3 separate regions of the Homo sapiens genome follow, and all the other regions are linked to region 3. The links are contacts of gene promoters, found by promoter capture Hi-C in blood cells and fetal thymus (Javierre and others, 2016). All regions are on one chromosome and are shown on one strand. The core of a region is centred on a gene start or on the middle of the fragment in contact, and the rest is flanking DNA. Distances in the headings are between cores, read along the strand shown.

Evidence for each region. The method cuts DNA at HindIII sites, captures the fragments that hold promoters and counts their contacts. A CHiCAGO score of 5 or more calls a contact.
Region 1: a fragment that was not itself captured here is called in contact with the fragment with the promoter of S100A2 in region 3 in 1 of 17 cell types (neutrophils); the score reaches 5.5 in neutrophils.
Region 2: a fragment that was not itself captured here is called in contact with the fragment with the promoter of S100A2 in region 3 in 1 of 17 cell types (M1 macrophages); the score reaches 5.2 in M1 macrophages.

What each region holds. Positions count from the first base shown.
Region 1 is chr1:153,402,140-153,406,650 of GRCh38, forward strand. It overlaps a transcript of S100A8 not described here. Among named protein-coding and RNA genes, the nearest start is that of S100A7A, 12 kb to the right of the region's middle. The HindIII fragment of the contact is 1,268 bases long and covers 1,368-2,635 here.
Region 2 is chr1:153,363,184-153,367,412 of GRCh38, forward strand. No RefSeq gene overlaps it. Among named protein-coding and RNA genes, the nearest start is that of S100A9, 7.4 kb to the left of the region's middle. The HindIII fragment of the contact is 618 bases long and covers 1,473-2,090 here.
Region 3 is chr1:153,564,046-153,568,265 of GRCh38, forward strand. It overlaps S100A2 (S100 calcium binding protein A2), which reads right to left and starts at 1,799. Exons shown (of 3, transcript NM_005978.4): 1 at 1,461-1,799. RefSeq lists enhancers at 156-913, 914-1,671, 1,791-1,850, 1,824-3,023, 2,721-2,960 and 1 more. The HindIII fragment of the contact is 6,475 bases long and covers 48-4,220 here.

The DNA of each region.
Region 1 (4,511 bases), core at 752-3,251, 160 kb before region 3:
GACCAGGAGGCTGCTGGAGAGTGAGAAGATGATTAACAGTATTAAGTTCTTCCTCTTTGCTGAGCACTGCTCCATGGGCTTTACATCCACCCATTCATCTCATCTTCTTAACAATTGCTGAAAAAGCCCAAGGAATGACAATTACAGGAGCATGCTGGGGACACAGCTAGTAATGCAGAGGCACATTTCTAACCCAGGCCCATGGGCCCCACATACCTGTTCTCAACCACTACATTACCTTGTCCCCGAATAACAGGAAATCCAACCTTAGGGAGAGCAGGAGAAGGGCCCCATGGTTAGAGGAAAGAGCTGGAACAGAGGTGCTCAGGTAGGAGCCAGCCTGGGCTGACAGAGGGGCAGAAAGAAGGGCTGGAGTGGTGTAAATGGAGCCCAGAAAGACAGGAGATGAGGTCTGAGGGGCAGGCAGAGGACAAGCCAACGAGGACTTTGCAAAATTTGGACTTTAAGCAGGATGGGAAGCCACTAAAAGTTTTTAGTAAGGGATATGCCATGTTCATAGCAGCTTTACATGCTATTGTAAAGCTGATAGTTCTCCCAAACGTAACCTATAGATTCAGTGCAATCCCAGTCCCAAAGTCCTTGCTGGAATTTTTGTAGAAATTGACAAGTTAACTGTAAAAAGTATATAGACAGGCCAAGAATAGCCAAGGGAATCATGAAAAAGAAAAGACATGGGAGGATCTACAGTACTAGATGTTAAGATTTATCATAACAGCTCCGGTAACTAAGATACTGCCTGGCTGGTTCAAGGACAGTCACATAGATCAACAGAACTAAATAGAGGTCTGAGAAAAAGACACACACGTATGGTATATTTATTCTGTGACAAAAGTGGCACTGCTGAGCACAAGCTTTTCAATACATTTTACTGGATCAACTGGATGCTCATGCTCATGAAACTAGACCACACAAGCAGACAAAATGACAATTCCAAGTGGATTGTAGGTCTAACTGTGGAAAGTAAAGTCATAAAGCCTCAGTAGCATATGCAAAGATATTCAAGACCTCAGTCTTGAAGATTTACTTCTATATTTTCTTCTAAGAGTTTTAGTTTTAGCTCTTATGTGTAGGGCTGTGACCTATTCTGAGTTAATTTGTGTGTATGAAGGAAGGAAGGGGTCCAGCTTCATTATTTTGCATGTGGCTGTCCACTTGTCCCAGCATCATGTGTTGGAAAGACTATTCTTTCTCCATTGAATTGGCTTGGCGGGCTTGTTGAAAATCAATTGACTGTGAATGTGAAGGCTGAGAACACTTTATCATGAACTGTTAGCTTCACCTATGTAAAGATATCTTCTCTCTGCTCTACCTCCTGTCGAAATCTGACACGACTCTTGCTCAAAACAAGCTTTGTTTCCTGAGTTCCGTGGCCTTGTCTCATGTGGAGCAATCATGTCACATTAACCCCCTCCCCACCCCCACTCCACGTCCACCCTGTGGGCCACGGCCCTGCCCTTTCCCAGCTGTTTTATGATCTGCTTTTTCAATTAGGACTATGTTTAAAACATCTCCCCAGTTCTTAAATATTTTTGAGTGATTGATTCCAAATAGCTACATTATATGGAATTCCAGAACCATTCTGACTAACAACACTTTTGACGCCAAATGTGTGGGGGTTATATTTCCTTTTTTTAAAATCCCCACACCAACCAATTCTCCAACACTCTGAACACCATCGGGGTATCGTGCAATTCCGTTCTGATCCTAACTACCAAGAGTTAGCACAGACCCCACAAGGTGAAGGCTCAGCCCCACAACACTGCCCCCACTGCAGATGCCAATCGCAGCACCTGACCGCCCATACTTCTGACTGACTGGCTAAAATTGGAGGTTCCTACAAACCCCCTCCTCAGGTTAGATAATCTGCTACAAGAGTTCACAGGACTCAGGGAGGCACTTTACTCATGATTACTGGTTTATTACAAAGAGTACAACTCAGGAAAAGCCACGTGGAAGAGACACACAGGGCCATGTATGAGGGGCAGCATGGAGCTCCCAGGCCCACTCCAGGAGCCCACCCTTCCGGCACCCCACCTGCTCAGCAGCCCTACAGTTCTCTGAACCCCATCGTTTGGGGTTTCTATGGCAGTCACTTCATTTAGGCATAGTTGATTAAATAATTGGCCACTGGTGATTGAAGTCCTTCCCCAGCCGCTCTGTGGAGGCCCAGTGTGGGGCTGAAAGCTCCAGCCCTCTAATCACATGGTTGCTTCCTCTGGCAACCAGCCCCATCCTGAAGCTATCTAGGGGTCCACCAAGAGTCACCTCATTAGCACACACTCAGCATGACTGGAAGGGGATTGTTATGAATAACAAAAGATGCTCCCTCTCCCCTGTCATTCAGGAGATTCCAAGGATTTCAGACGCTCGGTGTCAGGAACAGGGACAAAGACCAAATGTCCATTTCGTATCATCACAGGGATTCCATGTGTATAGGCATCAAGATTTACTTAACCCACCATTACTAAAAATTTAATTATTTTTATCTCTTCCTGTTTCTACCACTTGATTAACAATTGTGTCCCCAATATACTATTTTATGCAGTGTCCTCTGGTAAGCATTGGAGAGAGAAAAGAATACAAATTAAGTAAGAAAAGCCCTCTGCCTTTCAGAAGCTTTTGGTGAAGATCTCTTTTTTTAACAGGTGCAAGATTGGTGCCCGACGTGGGACTCACAACCTACAGAAGGGCGGGAACCACGAAGGACCCAGCCACGTGGTACTGCCTCCGGCGACAACCAGGGCGAGGTGGGTGCTCGGTGGCGCCACCGTGTGGAAGCTTGGGAAACAGAAAACCAATTCTCTGCACTCAGGGCCAGAGTTTTGTCCTGGGCCTCTGACTGGGGCCAACTGTAACAGGAACAGCCCTTACAGTGTAAGTCAGAATCCTACAGTCCTCCTTGGCCAAGGAGCCTTCCTGGAGTCCCCCCCACCCCGCACTGCTTTCTCCAGCTTGCCAGTTTTACCTACACGGCCCAGCCTCGTCTTAAAATTGGGCGAGATGAGGAATGATCATTGCCAACTTGAAATTTGGTTGAACAGATACATTTCTCAGGGTACGCTTGGGTCACTTCCTAGCACTGTCTGTGTATGCGGCCTCCGAGAAAGCAACCTCCCTTATCAGGCTAACAGAATTGACAGTAAATCCTCCCAGCAAACCCATTCGACAGGATGGTGGGTGTTAGTCCAAACTGCACCATTTTGTAAGCCCCCTGCCATTTTGCGGACCCTGGTCAGAGTGAAACATTCCATGTGGATTCAGGCCGTGAGAAACATCCTGCCTAACCACCTGACCGCAAGGCACAAGAGCATCCTTATCATACCCTGCTGGGCAAAGGCGCAACTGAAGGAACATCCCCATCATATCCTGCGGGGCAAAGGTCCAAGAAACAGCCTATCACATCCCGCTGGAAAAAGGTCCAAACCGCCTGATCACAGGAACATCTTATCAATATCCTCCCGGCGAGCTAGCCATACTGCCCAGACCCCCACCTAGACCTATAAATTACCCCAGCCTGTAAGCGGCAGGGGGCTCTGGCATTAAGCTTGTCCCCCACCTCCTCAGGTCTTGTGCTGGACATAAAACCTGCATTTCCATAGAGCCACCAACTCTCTCTGTGTCTTTTTTTAACCCTTGCCTTCCCTTCAAAACCTAACAGTGGGACCACAGGCTCTGGGCTGCAGCTGGGTGTTCTCATCCTCCAGTGTGGATGGCTCACAGCAGAACTGAGTCCTAATAACCTCTTGTGAATGCTGCAGAACTCTCTCTCTGTCTCTCTGTCCCGCTCCCCCAACTGCTGCACGAGTCCAGAGATGCAGCTGGCCAGCACCACCCAGAAGGACCCCAAACAGAACAGCTGGCTGTCTTGGAACATTCCCGTGGCTCCCTCTGCCCTGTCCCTCTCACCGTGGCTCCTGGAAGTGCTCTATGGCCTATTGAAAGGATGCCCCTACAAAGCTTCCCCTGGTTCCCCCACCTGAAAAGTGATTTCTCCTCTTCCAAATTCCCACACACTTTATCTGAACCTTTTTGAAGACACCTGCCTCACTTGCTAGTTTGGCCAATGTTTATGGAGTTCTCTGCACTGGAGGCTGGGGGCACAATATAAGACATGGCTGGGCGGCAGCAAACATAGCATATGTGTGGCCAGGGCTGTCACTGAGACATGCAGGGACATGGGGATGATGGCTCTGCCTGGAGAAGGCTTCACAGAGAAAGTGACCACTGAACTGCCTGGGGACCTGGGGGCTTCCGGGCTCTGTCCCACTCTACTCTCTCACCACCCAGTGCCTTATATTGGAGTTCTCTCCTGGGGCCAGAGCATTGCTCAAAGCATGGTCCACATCCACTCCATCTCCCTGCCACCCTGACACCTGCACACCCAGAACAGAGTCAGCACTCACAGCATAAATGAATGGATAAAATACAGCAAAAAGAACAAATTGCTTTCTGTCCTCTTCCCCCAGCAACTTGAGATCTTCTAGAGACCC
Region 2 (4,229 bases), core at 532-3,031, 200 kb before region 3:
CAACATCCCTGCCAAGTGACTGAACCAACCCTGCCTGAATTCCTCCAGGAAAGGAGAGTTTCCCCCTTTGGGAGTGACACTTGGAATGTCCCTCATTATACTGAGCTGAAATCCATCTCCTCATGCCCACCCAGCATTAGTCCTACTTTTCCTCCCCTTTGAGGACACAGAACAAATCTAACCCCTTATCATCCATCCTCCCATCCACATGTTTATTCCTCCACTTCTTCAAAACGCCTTCCCTAAATTACATCCAGGCTTTCTCCAGCCTCTTCACCTTTGCACCAAAAATGCTGTGCTCCATCCTGGTGTCTCTTGTAAGTCCCTTAGGATCCATCAAGCCTTGGAACAAGTGTTACTGCTTCCTCACCATCCACCCTTCTCAAGAAGATAGGGACTTCCTCCTCCAGGCCCACAGAACTCTGACAATTCCACCATTGCACTTCAAATACTGAATGGCAAATACTCATTTGCCAAGACTATGAACCCCTGAAAGCAGGGACTATAGCTGATTTTCCCCCACATTCAAGATCCCAGCATGGACCATCCACTTGTTCATCCACAAAGTGAAGATAGGATGGTTCTAGAGCAGAAATGGGTGCTTTGCTCGAATGTGGGTGTGAGGTAGGAGTGGCTCTCAGGAACTGGGGTTGGGGGTGCCAGCTGTCTGGAGACCTGGGGCTGGCAGAGAGCAGAGCAGCTGAGTGGCAGGATGACCCAGAGACCTCCTCAGGTAACAAGGATTCTTCCATTTACCTTGTCTCTAGTAACTCAGTCTGCATGTAGGCAATTGTTTCAGACCCTGGGGGAAGGTCTGACAACAAGCCACTTGCACCCTGCGGAATTTTCTTTAAACGTAGTTGAACAGAACTCATCAAGGTGACTTAACCTCTTCATTCCCATTAGCCTCTTTCATTTCAAAAAAAAAAAAAAAAAAAAAAACCTCATTCTGCTGAGTAGAGCAGAGTGGGCTTCTTTTCTCAGATAGAGAGAGCAAGCATGTCCATGTCCATGTCAAGGTTAAGATTCCCACTCCAAGTGGAAATCAGTAGCTATCTCTGTGATTAATGAGTCCTTTGGGGAAACATGACCTTTGGGGACTTTCCCAGCACCATGGTGACTAAAGAATCAGAGACAACCTGTCTTCAGATGACTATCCAACAATTCCTGCAACAATGAGTTGCCCTCCAGGCTGGTGTTAGCAGTGGAACCTGAACTGCTAGATGCCTTCCTGGGAGGAATGAGGAAGGATCAGAAGTAGTCTAAGCTGCTAAACTCTTCCCAGACACTTCACAGTGCTCTGAATGTGGTCTGGGGCCTGGGTGGTGGTGGGATGGCTCCAGAACTTGGGGGAGAAATGAATTCACTTGTCCACTCACTTGTATGTCCCTTCATTCACTCAACAGACATTAACTGCAGACTTACTATGTGTCAGGCACAGTATAATGCTGAGGGGCCTTCATGATAAATAAAGCTTGTCCATGTTGTCAAAGAGTTCTCGGGCCTGCAGGGAGACAAGACAGCTCCTCAAATTAATCTGATGTGGAAAATGAGAGGCCAGGGAGGTCCAGCTAAAAGATTTCGGTGGGATGTAGCTCGGTGGGACTTTGAGGTGGGAATGATGCCCTTCACTGGGGCCATCTCCATGGAGGGGTAAGTATCAGTGTGACATCAAGGCTGGTACCTGGAGACATCCCGGGATAAACATGAAGGTGCTTCAGGAGACCATGTATGCAAAGGCCTGGAAATGGGCAGGCGTGGGGTTTGAGGGCGAATGAGGAGCACTGGGGGCGTGGCAGGGAGAGGTAAGAGAGACAGATGAGAACAGGATAGGTACCAGGCCAAGGAACTCACACTCCATTCAGCAGAACAGGGGCAGAGCCCCGAAGGCTTCAGGGAGGGCAATGATATAATCACATTTGCATTTCATAGAAGTTTCTCTATCTGTGTTTTATGGGATGGGTTTGGGGTGGGAATGAGACCCCAGGCACATGGCCTGTGGGGAGTCTGTTGCAAGAGCCCAGGTGAGCACTTAAGAGTCCAAGCGGTGCTTCTCAGAAAAAGTAAAGCTAGAGCCTCAAACTACCCCAAGCTTCACCTCAATTAGGAGAGGTGTGACTGCAACATGATAAATAAGATCATTTCATGCTGTTTGCCAAGACCTTTCCAGGAAGGAAGATCTCAGCTTTCACCAGCCCGGTGAGCCAACCTTACACAACCCTGATGCAGCCCTGCCCTGAAGTAAGCTCCATAATCCAACCCCAATGCACTGCCCCCTCTTCCGGCAGTTGCTTAAAACATATATTTTAGAAAGCCCCGTGTCATGGATTTTGACACTCCAATTACCAAAGTGACAGCAGGACTGAAACAACTGGTTTCTCAAGTCCTATTGCCCCTTGGGGCTCTGACCTGAAACAGTTTCTCTATCCTAAGACGACAATCAGTCCCTGGATGATTAGATCACCCCTGTCTTCAGAGATCCACTCCCAGACACAGGAGACAGGGAAAGGGAGCCCCTGAGCGACAGCCAGCTGGCCTCCATCCTGAGTGTCCCACGGAATGCAGAGTCCCAACTAAACACAGAGCACCGCTATTGGTGCTGGCTCAAAACAACTACATCTAGGCTTTCCTTTTCTGCATGAGTTCTCCCACTCTTGCCCACGTACCCAAAATTGCTGCATGCAGACTGTACAGTGAGGAAGGGGTTTGTTGCCAAGACCCGAGGTGAAGAGGAAGAGGAGGGTGGCCACCAGCAGGGGCGGCAGGGGCAGCAGGATTCCAGCATGCAGCCCGCACCTTCAGCATCCCCCGCCTTGACTTGGAGTCTGATCCTCCCTCCTCTCCCCTGCCTCTCCCCCAACCTTTTCCCTCTTGATTTGCCCCCTCTCTTTCTCTCTTTACCTTTTCTACATCCTCTCCCTGAGCTTTTTCTCACTTACTGCCTTCTGCCCTCCTGTCCTCTGTGGTAAAATGCAGTTCTATGTGGCTGAGTGCTTTCAGGGAAGCAACTAGGGGTCATATCTAACCTTTGTGAAGTAACTACGGGTCATATCTAACCAGAAATGGCTCCCTCAAAACACAAGATGTCCCAGTTTCGAGTCTACTCCTCATAATGAAAGGAGACAATCACAAGGGAAAATTGTTGAAGGTCTTGGGGAATCAAGTCTGGAAAAGGTAAGCAAGGGAGCCATGACAGCTGCCTTCAAATATCACCAGGGTCCAGGGAGAGGAGCCCACCCCCGGGGGCAAGGCCTCCAAACCCGCTGTGGTGTGGCTCATTTGCTGCCAGGCCCTCCCACTCTCCCAGCACTGCCTCAAGCATCGCCCTCGCATTCTACTCCAGGTGTTCATTCCCTCTGGTAGGAAACAGCTCCATGCAAAGAAGCCAACATTCATCAGCTATTCAGTCTGCAAATACTCATTGAGTGAGAACTAAATGCAGAGCACTGTTATAGGTGCTGGGTCAACAAAACTGCGTCTAGGGGAGAGTCAGACAAGAGGCAAGTCAAGAAATAGATAGCCCAGATCATTTTAGATGGTGATGAGTTGCACAAAGAAAATAAAGGGGACATGCTAACAGGACTGCTTTGTGGGCCGGCAGCCAGGCAAGGAAGCAACACTGGAAATGAGGCCTGGATGACAAGAAGCCATCTCAACGAAGATTTCACCCCAAACACATTGGAGAGCCTTTGGAGGGTTTTAATCAGGCAGGTGATGTGATATGATGTATCTGGAGGAGAATATTCGGCAGCTGTGTGGAGGGTAGCCTGGAGAACCCCAGAGTAGAAGCATGAGGACCAGTTAGGAGGCTGATGAGCCTGGTCTTATGTCAAATAGTGTGCTAGATTCCCTGCCTTCACAGAGCCCTCAGTCCAGTGGGGGCACAATTACCAGATATTTTCTCTATAATACAATGTTGTGGGCAAAAGACAAGCAAAGGCAGATGATAAGCACAAGATGCCCAGAGAGTACAGAAGGCACTTTTTGCCGTCTTATTGGCTGTGGTGTGGGGGAGGGGGTAGAGGGGAGCCGGGGGGCAGGGGTAGAGGGAAGGAGAGAGAAGGAAAGCTTGCTTGGACTAATGCCCAAGCTGAGTTTTCAGAGGGCAAGAATTGCACTTCCATGTGCCCAGTGCTGTGTTAGGCAATAAAAGAAATCAGAGAAACATAGGAAGTAAGGGCTCTTGCCCTCCAGATTTTTAGTTTGCTTTATCTTAAAACTTGAAAGGC
Region 3 (4,220 bases), core at 549-3,048:
TGAGGCCGGAGGCGATACCTCCATCTCACCCTGAGGGCAGACGCTAAAGCTTCCCTTGTGTCTGGGAGTCACCAAGCCTCCTCTGATGGCACTTGGGACACCCCCCTGAGGGCAGGGCTCCCCATTTTAGTGTCTGCCAGAAGGGAAATGACAGGGTGACCAGAGTCCCATTTTGATGGCATCTGCGCAGGCTCTGGGGAGCAGGGCCACATGCACCGGCTGGCAGATGGGGGCTCCTGTGCAGTCTGGCAGGAGCCATGGCTACAGCCTAGGAGCAGGAAGCTCCCTGAAGGAGTCGTTTCCCTCCTTAGACTCGGGACTCCTGAAGCCAGAGGCATCTCTCTCTGCCATCTAACTGGAAGCTCCCTTGGGCAGGAGTGTTTCCTCTCTCAGACTAGGAGCTCCCAGAGGGTGGGGAATGTGTCTCCCCTCACCCTGAAGGCCCCTGAGCCTCTAGGCAGACAGGGGCATGGATAGGGTGGGGGCAACTTAACATTCTCTCCACCAGGAAGGATCCTGTTGGAATTAGAATTAAAGATATGAAATGTTCATTGCCTTGGGATCAGGATGGGACAGACCTCAGCGGCAAGGCCTCTGAGAATACTCAGACCAGCCTGGAAAGGTTAGGCAGGTTTCAGGGTGAGGCCAGAGGAGCTATGCCAGAGGCAGGGCATGCCCTGGGCCCATCATGCCAGCCCTGCCTTCACCGAGGCAGGGGGCAGAGCTTTGCTGCTTGGGGCCATGACCCAGGCAGAGTCTTGAGACCCCTGCCTCTTGCACCTTAGTCCTGCTAGAATCCAGGACTTTGCAAAAAAAAAAAAAAATCTCAGGATTCTTTTTGCAGCAACGCCCACATGCACACCTCCTGCTCCTAGGCCTAGACCCCCAAAGAAGGGCCCCTAGACTGAGATATCCAGGGGAGGGCCTCAGAGCAACCCCTGCACTGAGACCTCACAGAGGAACCTGGAGAAAAACCCTTCAGTCGGCCGGGCGCGGTGGCTTACTCCTGTAATCCCAGCACTTTGGGAGGCCGAGATGGGTGGATCACGAGATCAGGAGATCGAGACCATCCTGGCTAACATGGTGAAACCCCATCTCTACTAAAAATACAAAAAAATTAGCCGGGCATGGTGGTGGGCGCCTGCAGTCCCAGCTACTCGGGAGGCTGAGGCAGGAGAATGGCGTGAACCTGGGAGGGGGAGTTTGCAGTGAGCTGAGATCACACCACTGTACTCCAGCCTGGGCGACAGAGCGAGACTCCATCTCAAAAAAAAAAAAAAAAAAAAAAAACCCTTCAGTCAACACTTCAGCACTTCACAGAGAGTTCTTCCAAGGGGGAAGGCCCAGAGAGGCCCAGGTTGATCCCACCAGGGAAGCTGGAATGAGAGAACTGTGGAGACAAAGACAGAGACCCACGGGGATCCTCCCCACCCTGCCCTCAGCAGGACAGAGGTACTCACCAGACCAGGTGGCAGAGACAGACCCAGGAAGGAGAGCAAGGCAGCCAGGCTCCCAGGGTGAGGATTTATATGTGGGCCCCACTGGCCCCCAACTTGGCATTTTAAGGAAACCAAACCTGCCTCAACCTGATCCCACCAAACCCTGGCCTCTTGCCATTCCCACTCATTCCCTCCCAGCCCCCTCCCTCCCAGAGAGTGCCAGCTCCACCACCAGCTGGGGGAGGGCTCTAGGCCAGGTCAAGGGCAGCCCCTGAGCCCACCCAGGCCACAGTGGGAAGTGGGAGGTGTCGTGGGGACTGGGCATCCTGGACCGGGGTGAGGGGAGGCAACCCCTGCTCTGGGGCCTGGAGACTGGTGCCAGGCCTCATTCTCATGACATGCCTGTGAGTCACAGCCCACTCCTGTGTGAGAGGCTGTGAGCACACGCTGAGACTTCATGGTCCAGTGCTCGTGTACATACATGCGCCCGTGTGTGTGAGAGAGAAGCAACCTGGGGCCACCCTTAGGAAGCTGGGGGCCAGAGGAGGCAGCTGGGGGACATCAGGAGGAGAAGGACAGGACTGACTTCAGGGCATGGATGAAGTGGAGTGACTTTTAATGGCCAGCACCAGAATACCTCTTAATGAGGTAATGAGGTAACTAAGTGTGCTTAGAAATACCTGGGAAGGTCCCTCTGTGTAGGAAGGTGTCTGGAAGGATGGGGAAGCAGTGAGAAATGGGGTTGCTCTACACACAGCCGCAGTTGGGCTGGGCCACAGTCTGTGGGGAGCATAAGGAAGTCCCGAGTAGTTAAAGGCTGAACAGGAAAACTTTGGCCTCCTCTTCTCCAGCTTGAGGGCTGGGTGGGTGGGTAGGGGTACATCCCTACCCAAGGCTGAAAACACCAGCTGGACAGCTTCCCAAGCCAGAATCCAGGCCTGAAGCACAGCCCTCAGCCACAGCCCTCTCTCACTGCCCCCCACACACATGTCCTCCCCAGACCCGGAGAAAGGCAAACACTGTGGCCATTCAGAGCCCAGCCCAAGGGAGGGCTGCCCCCTCCCAGGGCCCCTTCCTCCTTGGCCCTTTGTCTATCCCGGCCCGTCTGGGCATCAGGGCACCGCCCTTCCTGTGGCCCCAGCTCCCCTCCCTGCTCCAGCTGTCGAGTAGCTTCTTCCCCTCCCCCAGCCCCTCTACCTCAGCCCTAAGTGACTCACCCGAGGTTCCAGGCCCAGATGCCCAGGCAGTGACTCAGCGGCACACCCTCCTCCCCCAGGGCCAGGGCAGCAGCAGTCCCAGAGCAGTAGGTGGAAGCCCCAGCCCAGCCTGGCAGGGAAAGCACTGGCACAGAGACCCCAAACAGGCCCTGCCAGGAGGAGCTTTGGATAATGACATGGCAGGAGGATCAGACTGAGAACAGGCTGGTCCCTTCCTAGCGGTCACCGTGTGACTTGGGGGCCAGCCTGAGCAGTGTACATGAAGTCAGGCCTTGGGGCCCCCAGTGTCCTCTTCTACACCTTGGCACAGCCACCGAGTGTCCCTTGCTCCCCTCAGTACTTGAACCCCTCATGCTACTTGTCTTCCCATCGAGGCCTACTTCAAGTAGAACTCGGAATAAAAACCCTTCACACTGAGGGTGAGGGACAAGGGAGCGCAATGCATCGATTTTCACAGCCATTCTTTCCTTTTAACTAAGGGCCTCCACAGGGCCTTCCCTGCTCAGAAACTGCAGTGCATCCCCATGGCTGTCCCTTAAAGCCAGGCGGTATGTTCTCACTCATAAGTGGGAGTTGAACAATGAGAACATATGGACACAGGGAAGGGAACACCACATACCAGGGCCTGTGGGCAGTTGCGGGGAGAAGGATGGGGGCAAGGGGAGGGAGAGCATTAGGACTAATACCTGATGCATGCGGGGCTTAAAACCTAGATGATGGGTTGATAGGTGCAGCAAACCACCATGGCACATGTATACCTATGTAACAAACCACATTCTGCACATGTATGCCAGAACTTAAAGTAAAAATAAAATAAAATTAAATTAAAATTAAAAATTTTTAAAAAGCCTGGCAGTGAGGCGCTCCAGACTCGGCCTGCTGCTGCGTGTCCCTTAAACACACCGGCACATGCAACTAGTGTGGCCAAGACCCTCGGCTTGCGCTGACCCCTCTGTTCAGAACGTGCCCACACATGCCCATGCCCTCTATCCTGCTGAAATCCAACCCCCCCTTCAAAGGCCACTGCAGGGAGCCTTCCCAGGGCCCAACCGGATTCAGTGTCTACCTGTTCTGTCCTGTACAAAGCGCCCCTTTTGCCCTTTTCGTGTGTACTTAGAGAATTCTGATTTTGACTGAATCACCTGTGTACTTGTTTTCTCTCAGCCTCACCCCCACATGGTGAGCTCACCGGTCTTACTCATTTCTGCATGAGGTAAGGGTCTCGCCCACACCAGGTGCCAACCAGTGCTTACGGCTACCACATGGCAACAGGGGTCACTGGAGGAGTGCTTAGGAGCAAGGGAGTCCTTCTCACCCCGTGAAATCACACCACTGACTATGCTACGAAATAATCACCTCTCCTCTGGATCCCAAGAGTGGAACCGAGACAACGGGTCGGAAAAGAGCTTCAGAGAGCTACAAATCCCTGAGGAGTGACAGCAGGAAACTGCGGCTCCCAGGACCCAGTGAGGGAGTTGAGCAAACCCCCCAGCGGGCAGAGACGGAGACAGGCAGGCAGACGAAGAAGACAAAGAGTCAGTCAGATGGAAAAGCCAGGGAGAAA